3 separate regions of the Homo sapiens genome follow, and all the other regions are linked to region 1. Evidence: promoter capture Hi-C in human tissues and cell types (Jung and others, 2019). All regions are on one chromosome and are shown on one strand. Each heading gives the region's core, a stretch centred on a gene start or on the middle of the fragment in contact. The rest is flanking DNA. Distances are from core to core; before and after follow the strand shown.

Region 1 (3,279 bases), core at 309-2,808:
GACTCCCTTGGCCTGAGAGGGGCCTCCTCCCCCTGGGACAGGGTGGTCAGACAGTGACGCTGGAGAGCACAGTGGGGGTAATTATTATAATTTAACACTTACTTCACAAAACCAATATGCTAGCAGCTTCATGCTGATTGGCTTTTTGCTTCAGAAGTCTGGATGAGTGTCCTGAATTAAATAGCTGTATTAACAATAATTCCTTTCAGCAAAAAGGGCAAGAATAGGAGGGTTAGCTCAGGATAGCCTAGACAGGGTACTCATTTTTCACAAGCTAAGAGCAATCCTGGTCTGTCGGTGTGGGCTGCAGAGATGAATCATTCAGGGAGCCCTGAATTGCGGCTCCCTGGGATCCCGACAGGGCCCACTGCGACCTGTTCTTTTCATATTGAATTCGAGTTCAGATTTTTAGAAAAGAGCCTTTTCTTCACATATGTGGCTTAAGATACTTTCATTCAGTGTCAAGCTGTGCAGCTCAGAAACCCAGATAAATGGCATCTGAGTTTCCTGCAAAATCCCAGAGCAAATGTTAATACAAACAAACCGACTGCCCTCTGTCTGATGTCTGATGCTTCCTGCCACCCACTATCCACCAGGTAAACCGCCTCAGGCCACGGCATCAACTCAGTGAAGGCCTGGATGCTGGGTTAACAAGAGTGTTTATGAAGACTAGACTTTTTCTTTTCTTTTCTTTTCTTTTTTTTTTTTGAGACATACAATCATAGCTCACGGCAGCCTTGGACTCCTGAGCTCAAGCTGTGCTCCCACCTCAGCCTCCCAAAGGGCTGGGATTACAGGCATGAGTCAATGCTCCTGCAAACGGACTTTCTTTGAGAGATAAATATTGAAGTACTTACAAATGCAATGATCTAATGTGTATATAATTTGCTTCAAAATGACCCAGCAGTGGAGGGAAGTGAATGAGGACAGAGAAGCAGTGGCCCAGGCCAGGAGCTGGCAATCGCTGAATCTGGGCGATAGGGACATGGGGGTCAGTTTCATCGAAACTGCCTTGGCGCTCTCTGCAGCCCGGGCCCGCCGCCCTCTCCTTACCTCCCATCCCCCATCCCGCCCCTTCCAGCCTCCCAAGCACACGCCCTCGCCCCCACCCGCCCCCCGCGTTAATTCGCGCCATCCAGGGCGCTCTGTGAGTCTGTCATTACCCAGCGCGAGTCAGGCCCCTCCTGTGCCCCTCGCCAGCCCCGAGGGGCGCCCGCACACAGTCGGCGCCCCACACGCAAGTACCTGGAAGAGAACAAGAGGACGCCAGCGGGCGCGGCCGCCAAGTGAGTGCGCAGGAGCCCCGGACGCCCGGCCGGGGTCGGGAGGGCGCAGCCAGGTCCCGGTGGTGTCCGCGGCGGGGCGCGGCCCGCGAGGGAAGGGTCGGCGGGGGAGGGGTCCGCTGGGCCAGGGGCCAGCAGGGGGCGCGCGCGGGCCGGGGCGGGGCCGCACCTGTCCTGCGGCTGGGGGGGCGCCGGGAGGGGGCCGGGGCCCGGGAGCAGCTGCGCGCCCCGCCCCGCCCCGCGGGCTCCTCCCTGCCGCCGCGGCCCCCCGGTTGCTGCCCCGATGCGCTGCGCCCGGAGCCGGGGCCGAGTCGCTGCCGCAGCTGTTGGGGCGCCCGGGCCAGGCGACGCCGCCGTCGCCCGTGCCCCTCCCAGACCGCACCGGCCGCATGGAGCCCCCGGAGGGCGCCGGCACCGGAGGTGAGTTCAGCCCCAGCCCCCGAGACCCCCGCGCAGCGCTTCCCCGCAGCGAGCCGCAGCCCCTCCCCCCAGGGCTCACCCTTCGCCGCTCCCGGGAGTCGCGAAGACCCCTTTGGCAGCTCGGGGTCGTCCGGCGGGCCAGGGGCACCTCCCGGGCGCGGTCCCCGCGCGGGGCTGGGGGCACACGGACCGAGTCTCCGCCCCCTTGTTCTCTGCGCTCCCGGCCCGGGAAGCCGTGCCCGGCACGCTCCTTGGTGGGTGGCCCGGAGTTTCGTCCTGAGCCCCCTCCCAGCCAAGCCAGCCGGTGACCCGGGGAGCGGGGGAGGGGGGTTCCGGGGCTGGAGTTTGGGGTCCCTGTCGGTGGGGCGTGAGGGCGACGCTGGCCGCTTGCAAGCGCGTCCGCTTTGTTCGCCCAGCCGCGAGTCCCGGGGGGCGAGGGCCGTAGACTCGCGGGCAGGGATCCTGCCAGGGGCGAGGGGCTGAGATGGGTCTTGGGGATGTGGGGCATGCACGGGCGCGGCCTGCCGGGGACTCCAGAGCTGCAAGGGTGGCTGGTCCGGGAGTGGCCCAGGCGCACGCTCATCGGGGAGGGTAGGTGCGCGTGGAGCGCTCCCTGCCCTGATGGTGGAGGCCCTACTGCAGGACCTTGGAGTCGGTAACGGGAAGAAAGCTCTCAGAACCTCCCCCCTTCCCGATCAGAGACTTTTCCAAAAGGGCTTTCGGGGTTCCATTTGCCTAGGTAGGAACTTGGATGCAAACTGCAGACTCCTCCACCTGCCCAGCCAAGCCCACCACCTCCTGGTTTCCTAGAGCTCCCATTCCAGGGAGCCAGCAGGTGCCTGAGGGCACAGGCAGGCCAGCCTGCCGCTCTGGAACTACATGGGAACCTCTCAGTCCCCCAGCCGCACACAGTGGCATCCTCTGGAGCCCGAAGGGCTGTCCCCGGGAGGAGCAGGTCCACCCACCCTGTGTATCTGCAGTCCAAGGTATAGGGACAAATGCCCCAGGGCTGGTGGGTTTGGGTTTTGATTTGTCATTTGTGGGAGGGACCAGAGCTCTTTCTTAACACTGATAGTCCCAGGCTCCTGGGTATTCCCAGTAGCAGCTTTGTGGACATAGGAAGCCTGGAGGTTGGGAGTGAGGGCTTGGGGGTCTCCGAGCTGTTTCCAGCTGTGAACTGTGGGCAGTCAGGCCCCTGTGAGCCTCAATTTCCATTTCTGTCAGTGGAGACAGTTCTGCTTCCCCTGCAGGGCTGTGGGAGCCCAAGGCATTTGGGAGTGGAGGTTAATATGTTTTCCCTCCTCCTTTGGGAAAAAAGGAGGACTTCCCAGCAGCTTAAAAGGCAGAGAAAGCAGGTTCAGTTTCTGAGCCCATCAGTCACTGGCTGGGGGCTTCAGACACCTGACTCAATCAGTGCACAGGTATTTACCTACAGGTCGCAGCTCTGTGCAGTACCCTGCCTGGGGTGGGGAGTTAGTGGGAAGACAGGGCCCTGTCCTCTGAGGGCTCACGCTCTTGACACCAACTCCTGTTTCCTTGTCTGCAAAGTGGCCAGTGATGCCTACTTTGTGGAACC
Region 2 (3,279 bases), core at 563-3,062, 310 kb after region 1:
CAGGGTCTCGGGCTCTGAGCCCAGGACATTCCCTGCCCCTTACTCACCTTGGCTGTGGGCTGTGAACATTCCGGGACCCTGGGCATCTTATCTAGGTCCGTGCAGCCCAAGGGTCAGCCCTCTTGACTGTCACATGCTGCCCCCACCCAGCCTAAAATAAAGAGCTCACTGCTGTGCTTCGCCGTGTGGCTCCCTCAATCCCCACCCCACTGGCCAGGCAGCACAACCACCCCTGCTGCCCATGGCAGAGGCCGCTGAGGATGTGGGGGACGAGCCACAGCCCAGCCCCAAACCAAGCCTGGCCCAACCTCTTGAACATCTGCCAGCCTCCGAGACCCTCTGCATAGAAGCAGGGTCCTCTTGGGGCTGTGCCTGGCCAGGCAGGTGTGGGCTTCACCCTCTTGGACAGGAGAGCTCTGCAGGGCATCAGTGGGTGGGAAGGGTGGGGTGAGGCTGGGGTCCAGGTCATCACTGGGGACCTGAGCCCAGAGCAGTCACCCGAGGGTCTCAGGAATCATCGTTCTGTGCATGGCGACACACACATGCTCTGAGGTGCACAGAAGGCTGCCGGGCGTGGACAGCATCTGCCAGGGCGGTGTGGGCAGATCAGGATGGAGGGCTCTTCTGCAAGAAAGGCACCCCTGGCACCTTGAGATGCCATGAGGAGGCAGGTGGCAGGGCTGGTGGGGTGGGAGGTCCCAACCCTAGATGCTACCAGGAGCTGGCTGGGGGGCAGTGTTGCTGTTCTCAGGGAAACAGTCTTAAAAGCAGTAGCTGTGGACCTCGGTGGGATGCTCTGTGCTTGCACCCTGAGCAGGGGCTGGTTTACCCGCCAAGGACCCCATAGGGAGACAGAAGTGTCTCTCTGGGTGGGGCAGAGCTGGAGCATCTGCCCCAGCCCTCGATACGAACCCCAGCTGGCCACGGTGCCTTGGAGCTTGGGCTGCTCCGGCCTCAGCGTTGGTGTCTAGAAGATGGGATTTTAAAGTCCGCTTCATAGAATGGTGGAGATGAGCTGTGTCTTGAACAAATCCTGGCGTGGGAGCCCCTGCTGGCTTGGCATCGGGGCCACACCTGCAGCCTGCACACTGTGGGGGCCGGGAACGTCCTGGCTCAGCTGTATCCCTGGCGCTGAGACCCGGCAGACATGTTCAAGTGCTGCTGTTTGCTGTGCAGCTTTGCCCTCGCTGAGCCTGCAGCTCCCCCATAAGACAGGAATGAATAATAGCAGCTTCCTTTTAGAAATCCTACAAATGGCCGGGCGCGGTGGCTCACGCCTGTAATCCCAGCACTTTGGGAGGCCGAGGTGGGCGGATCACGAGGTCAGGAGATCAAGACCATCCTGGCTAACACGGTGAAACCCCGTCTCTACTAAAAATACAAAAAATCAGCCGGGCGTGGTGGCCCGCACCTGTAGTCCCAGCTACTCGGGAGGCTGAGGCGGGAGAATGGCGTGAACCTGAGAGGCAGAGGTTGCAGTGAGCTGAGATCGTGCCACTGCACTCCAGCCTGGACGACAGAGAGAAACTCCGTCTCAAAAAATAAAAATAAAATAAAAAGTAATGGCTGGGCGCAGTGGCTCATGCCTGTAACCCCAGCGGTTTGGGAAGCCGAGGCGGACGGCTCTTTTGAGGTCAGGAGTTCGAGACCAGCCCGGCCAACATGGCGAAACCCCGTCTCTACTAAAAATACATAAATTAGCTGAGCGTGGTGGCGGTAGTCCCAGTTACTCAGGAGGCTGAGGCCGGAGAATTGTTTGAACCTGAGAGGCAGAGGCTGCAGTGAGCCGAGATCACGCCATTGTACTCCAGCCTGAGCACAGAGCGAGACTCCATCTAAAAAAAAATAAAAATAAAACTATTCTGCATAAGCAGTGTCCAAATCATAACAAAAATCAAATGAAAAGTAAACAAGATGTAACCTTATATCCATTGGACCGGAGAAGATGAGGAAGCTGGACGATGCTGAGTACAGGAGGGGGAGGGAGCTCACGCACACTGTGGGGTGGACACGGCAGTGGCCCCAGGGGACCAGGTGCAGTCCTGGAGTCCAGGTAAGTGTGGACGGAACCTCCGACCTGGCAAGGCTGCTGCCGGTTTTAGAGGATGTATATGCAGTGGAGGCAATGGAGTGTCTGTCCCGGGAGGGCAGGGAAGGACGGAGAATCCACACGGCAGCTCATGGAGTGTCCATCCCCGGGCAGGAAGGGAGGGAGCCGTGAATGTGTACAGCCCACGTAGCCACCGCTGCCTAACAAACTACCCCAACTCAGGGGCTTAAATACTCAAGACGCCAGGCATGGTGGTTCACACCTGGAATCCCAGCACTTCGGAAGGCTGAGGCGGGGGGATCACTTGAGCCCAGGAGTTTGAGACCAGCCTGGGCAACATAGTAAGGCCCCCCTCTCTACTAAAAAGTTAAAAATTAGGCTGGGCACCGTGGCTCACGCCTGCAATCCCAGCACTGTGGGAGGCCGAGGTAGGTGGATCACCTGAGGTCAGGAGTTTGAGACCAGCCTGGCCAACATAGTGAAGCCCTGTCTCTGCTGAAAATACAAAAAGTACAAAAATCAGCCAGATGGCTCCTCAGCATCATGGGAGGCTGTTTCTAGGTGGTAACCCAATGACCAGGGGTTGGATTCATCCGAAGAGCTGTCTGCTGTCTATGGTTGGTGCCAGCTGTCGGCTGGGACCTCATTCAGGGCTGTCGGAACGACGACGTGAGGACTGGATGTGTTGCCAGGGGCTGCCAAAACGACCACAAAATGGGTGGCTTACAGCAACAGAAATGTTCTCTCTCACCATCTTGCAGGCCTGAAGTCAAAATCAAGCTGTCAGCAGGGCTGACTCCCTCTGGAGGCTTTAGGGTAGAATTCTGTTTGCCTCCAGTTTCTGGTGGCTCTAACACAGCTGTGTTACCTTCGCTCACGGCACCCTCGTTCCACTCTGCCTCCGTCTTTAAGCGGTCTTCTCTCCTGTGCGTTCATATCTAAGTTTCTCTCTCCTCATAAGGACAGCAGTCATACTGGATTGAGGGCCCATGCCAACCCAGAACAACCTCATCCTTTTTTTTTTTTTTTTTTTGAGATAGAGTCTTGCTCTGTGGCCCAGGCTGGAGTGCAGTGGCGCGATCCCGGCTCACTGCAAGCTCCGCCTCCTGGGTTGACGCCATTCTCCTGCCTCAGTCTCCCGAGTAGCTGGGACTACAGATGCCCGCCACCACGCCCAGCTAATTTTTTGTATTTTTTAGTAGAGATGGGGTTTCAGTGTGTTAGCCAGG
Region 3 (3,279 bases), core at 1-2,500, 260 kb after region 1:
TCCCGCCTCGGCCTCCCAAAGTGCTGGGATTACAGGTGTGAGCCACCACGCCCAACCCTTTTTTTTTTTTTTTTTCGTATTTTTAGTAGAAACAGGGTTTCACCGTGTTAGCTAGGATGGTCTCAATCTGCTGACCTCGTGATCTGCCTGCCTCGGCCTCCCAAAGTGCTGGGATTACAGGCATGAGCCACCGTGCTCGGCCTCCTAAAAATGTTTTTAAAAAACTTAGCTGGTCATGGTGATGTGCACCTGCAGTCCCAGCCATCTGAGAGGCTGAGGGGGAGAATTCTGGAGTTCAGGAGGCAGAGTCTGCAGCGAGCTACGATTGCACCACTGCACACACTCCAGCCTGGGCAACAGAACCTGTTTCCAAAAATAAATGAAGGTATGCTACTGTGAATAGCTGTAGAATGTTGTTGTTTTGTTAGTTTCTTTTTTCTTTTTTTTTTTTTTCCTTTTTATAGATAGTTCTCACTCTGTTACTCACTGCAGCCTTGACCTCCTGGGCTCAAGAGATCCTCCTGCCTCAGCCTCCCAAGAGGCTGGGACCACACACATGTGCCACCACACCTGGCTGATTTTTAAATCTTTTGTAGAGACGGGGTGTCACCATGTTGCCTAGGCTGGTGTCAAACTCCTAGGCTCAAGCAATCTGCTGGCCTCAGCCTCCCAAAGTGCTGGGATTACAGGCATGAGCCACCGTGCCCAGGTAATTTTTAAATGAGATGAGGTCTTACTATGTTGCCCAGACTAAAATAGCCGTTTTATACTTAGAAAGAAGGATTACAGTACTAACATCTTTGTGCTAGGGAAATCCTGTAAGAAATCATTCTTGATAAAACTAAGGTTTCTTTCCTGTGGAACTCTCAGCTGCAATTTCATTATAACACAGGGACATGGAGGACTGCGTATGAGATGAAATGACAAACTGGTTTATAAACCTGTCGGTGGATTGTGTGTTCTGTCCTCATTGTATTGAATTGCTTGCTCTCTTTCTCAGTTAACTTACCAAGACTGGTTACACCTGGAGCTGGAAATTCAACCTGAAGCTGATGCTCTTTCAGATACTGAACGGTAAGTGTTGAAAAGAGCTACCCTGGCCAGGCATGATGGCTCACACCTATAATCCCAGCACTTTGGGAGGCTGAGGCAGGAGATCTCTTGAATCCAGGAGTTTGAGGTCAGCCTGGGCAACATGGGGAAACTCCATTTCTACAAAAAATAGAAAAGAAATTAGCCGGACATGCGGCACGTTCCAGTCATCACAGCCACTTGGGAAGCTGAGCAGGAGCATTGCTTGAGCCTGGGAGGTAGAGGCTGCAGCGAGCTGAGATCACACCACTGCACTTTAGCCTGTGCAACGGAGTGAGACCCTATCTCAAAAGAAAAAGGAGCTTCCCTTTAAAATGTTACACGGTTTTCCACATTGCCTTAAAGCCTATGTTTCGTCATTTTATCCTCAATTTAATGTTTGGTTTACCTGTTAATCTTTGAGCACAATTTCAATTTTTTTTTTTTCGGTGGCAAGATTTATTAAAGCAAAAGCGAAAGTAAAGCTTCCACGCGGTGGCAATTTCTGTTTTTCTTTTTTTTTTTTTTTTTCTGAGACAGAGTCTTGCTCTGTCACCCAGGCTGGAATGCAGTGGCGCGATCTCGGCTCACTGCAACCTCCACCTCCCGGGTTCACGCCATTCTCCTGGCTCAGCCTCCCGAGTAGCTGGGACTACAGGCGCCCGCCACCATACCCAGCTAATTTTTTGTATTTTTGGTAGAGACGGGGTTTCACCGTGTTAACCAGGGTGGTCTCAATCTCCTGACCTCGTGATCCACTTGCCTTGGCCTCCCAAAGTGCTGGCATTACAGGCGTGAGCCACCGCGCCTGGCCAGGTTGCCCAATTTCGGTTGTTATTCCTTTATTTAAGAAACATTTACTGAGCTCCTACCATGTGGCAGACAATTCTAGAGTGTTCTAGAAGCAGGGAGTATAGAGGGGAATAAACAAGCCTGCCCATATGGCACCTTTGTATCAATGAGGGCAGATGTGGCACGTATAAGGCACCCACTTAGACTTCACCCTACCCTGGCTGGGCTATGGCTGCTGTCCGGGAGCTGTACACCTGTGTCCAGGCCCTGGCAACACACAGGTAGATACAGAAGTGGATTAAAGGTAGGAATGAGCCCTGGAGATAACAGACAGGGCCGTGTGAGAGGAAATGACCAGGCAGGAGCAGAGGCTGGTGTGGAGCAGGTGGTGCAGACTTTGAGGAGTGATGCCAGCCTTGACTTGGGGGCACCAAGAAGTGGGTAAATGAAGCAGTGAACCCCCATGAGTCCCAGGGCTGATGACTGAGACCATTTGAGACTATTTGAGAGGCCAGATGTGCTGTTCTGGGCATAGGAGTAGGGAGCCCAGAGGACCGTTGGGTTTAAGGGTGTGGAGTTTAGGGTGGAGGTCAGGGAGAGGGGAATGTGGTCACTGCAGATATGGAGTATCCTGGTGGGTATATGGGCCTCAGGGTGCCTGCCACACCTAGACTCAGGAGAGGGTTGGCAACAGCCACCCTGTGCTCCTCGTCCTTCCGGCCATCAGGGGCCTTCCAGGCACATGCAGCACTGTCGCCTGCACCTGGATCCTGGTATCAGATTCTGGATGAAACCAATGGAAGTAATAGGAAAAGGAAAACATAGGGGCCACAAAAAGAAAACTCGCTGCTGCCTGCGGCAAAACACGTGCTGATGGTTCAGGTCGTGCCAAGCCCGCTCTGCAGGCGCTTCCTTCACTCACCCCCGTTTCTCCTCCCGGCTGCTCTCTGGGGTGGAGTCTAAGGAGGAGGTCAGAGGGAGGGGCTTGTCTGCTGCATGAGGTCATGCTGCATCAGGTCACCGCTGCGTGGAAGTTGTGTTGAGATGTGTTGCGGGATTTTCTTTCTTTTCTGAATTACTTAAGTGATACTTAGATACATTCTGTGCCAGTTCCAGACAGTGTGGGTGGAGCACCCCAGTTCCGGACAGCGTGGGTGGAGCACCCCGGTCCCGGACAGCGTGGGTGGAGCACCCCGGTCCCGCACAGCGTGGGTGGAGCACCCAGGTCCCGCACAGCGTGGGTGGAGCACCCCAGTCCCGGACAGTGTGAGGAGAGCACACACTCCCTAGCACTCACATTTGCAGGGTCGTGTGGAGCGTTTTCCTGGTTGTGGCTCTTTCTGCATAAATGGATTGCGGTATTGATGGTTCTGTGCACTGCGGATTTGTTTGTTTGTTTGAGACAGGGTCTCACTC

Evidence for each region. The method cuts DNA at HindIII sites, captures the fragments that hold promoters and counts their contacts. A contact is called where the count stands out against the background at its distance.
Region 2: a contact is called between a fragment that was not itself captured here and the fragment with the promoter of DBNDD1 in region 1, in 1 of the 25 tissues and cell types used here (lymphoblastoid cells).
Region 3: a fragment that was not itself captured here is called in contact with the fragment with the promoter of DBNDD1 in region 1 in 1 of the 25 tissues and cell types used here (stomach).

Annotation. Positions count from the first base shown.
Region 1 is chr16:90,017,735-90,021,013 of GRCh38, reverse strand. It overlaps DBNDD1 (dysbindin domain containing 1), which reads left to right and starts at 1,558. Exons shown (of 4, transcript NM_001042610.3): 1 at 1,558-1,703. The coding sequence starts at 1,673. It also overlaps a transcript of DRC4 not described here. RefSeq lists silencers at 259-553, 1,300-1,439. The HindIII fragment of the contact is 9,907 bases long and covers 1-3,279 here.
Region 2 is chr16:89,704,031-89,707,309 of GRCh38, reverse strand. VPS9D1 (VPS9 domain containing 1) reads left to right here. Exons shown (of 15, transcript NM_004913.3): 15 at 1-176. Among named protein-coding and RNA genes, the nearest start is that of SPATA2L, 4.0 kb to the right of the region's middle. RefSeq lists enhancers at 423-923, 901-1,080. The HindIII fragment of the contact is 7,089 bases long and covers 1-3,279 here.
Region 3 is chr16:89,759,744-89,763,022 of GRCh38, reverse strand. FANCA (FA complementation group A) reads left to right here. Exons shown (of 43, transcript NM_000135.4): 29 at 1,001-1,074. Among named protein-coding and RNA genes, the nearest start is that of ZNF276, 40 kb to the right of the region's middle. The HindIII fragment of the contact is 3,867 bases long and covers 1-3,183 here.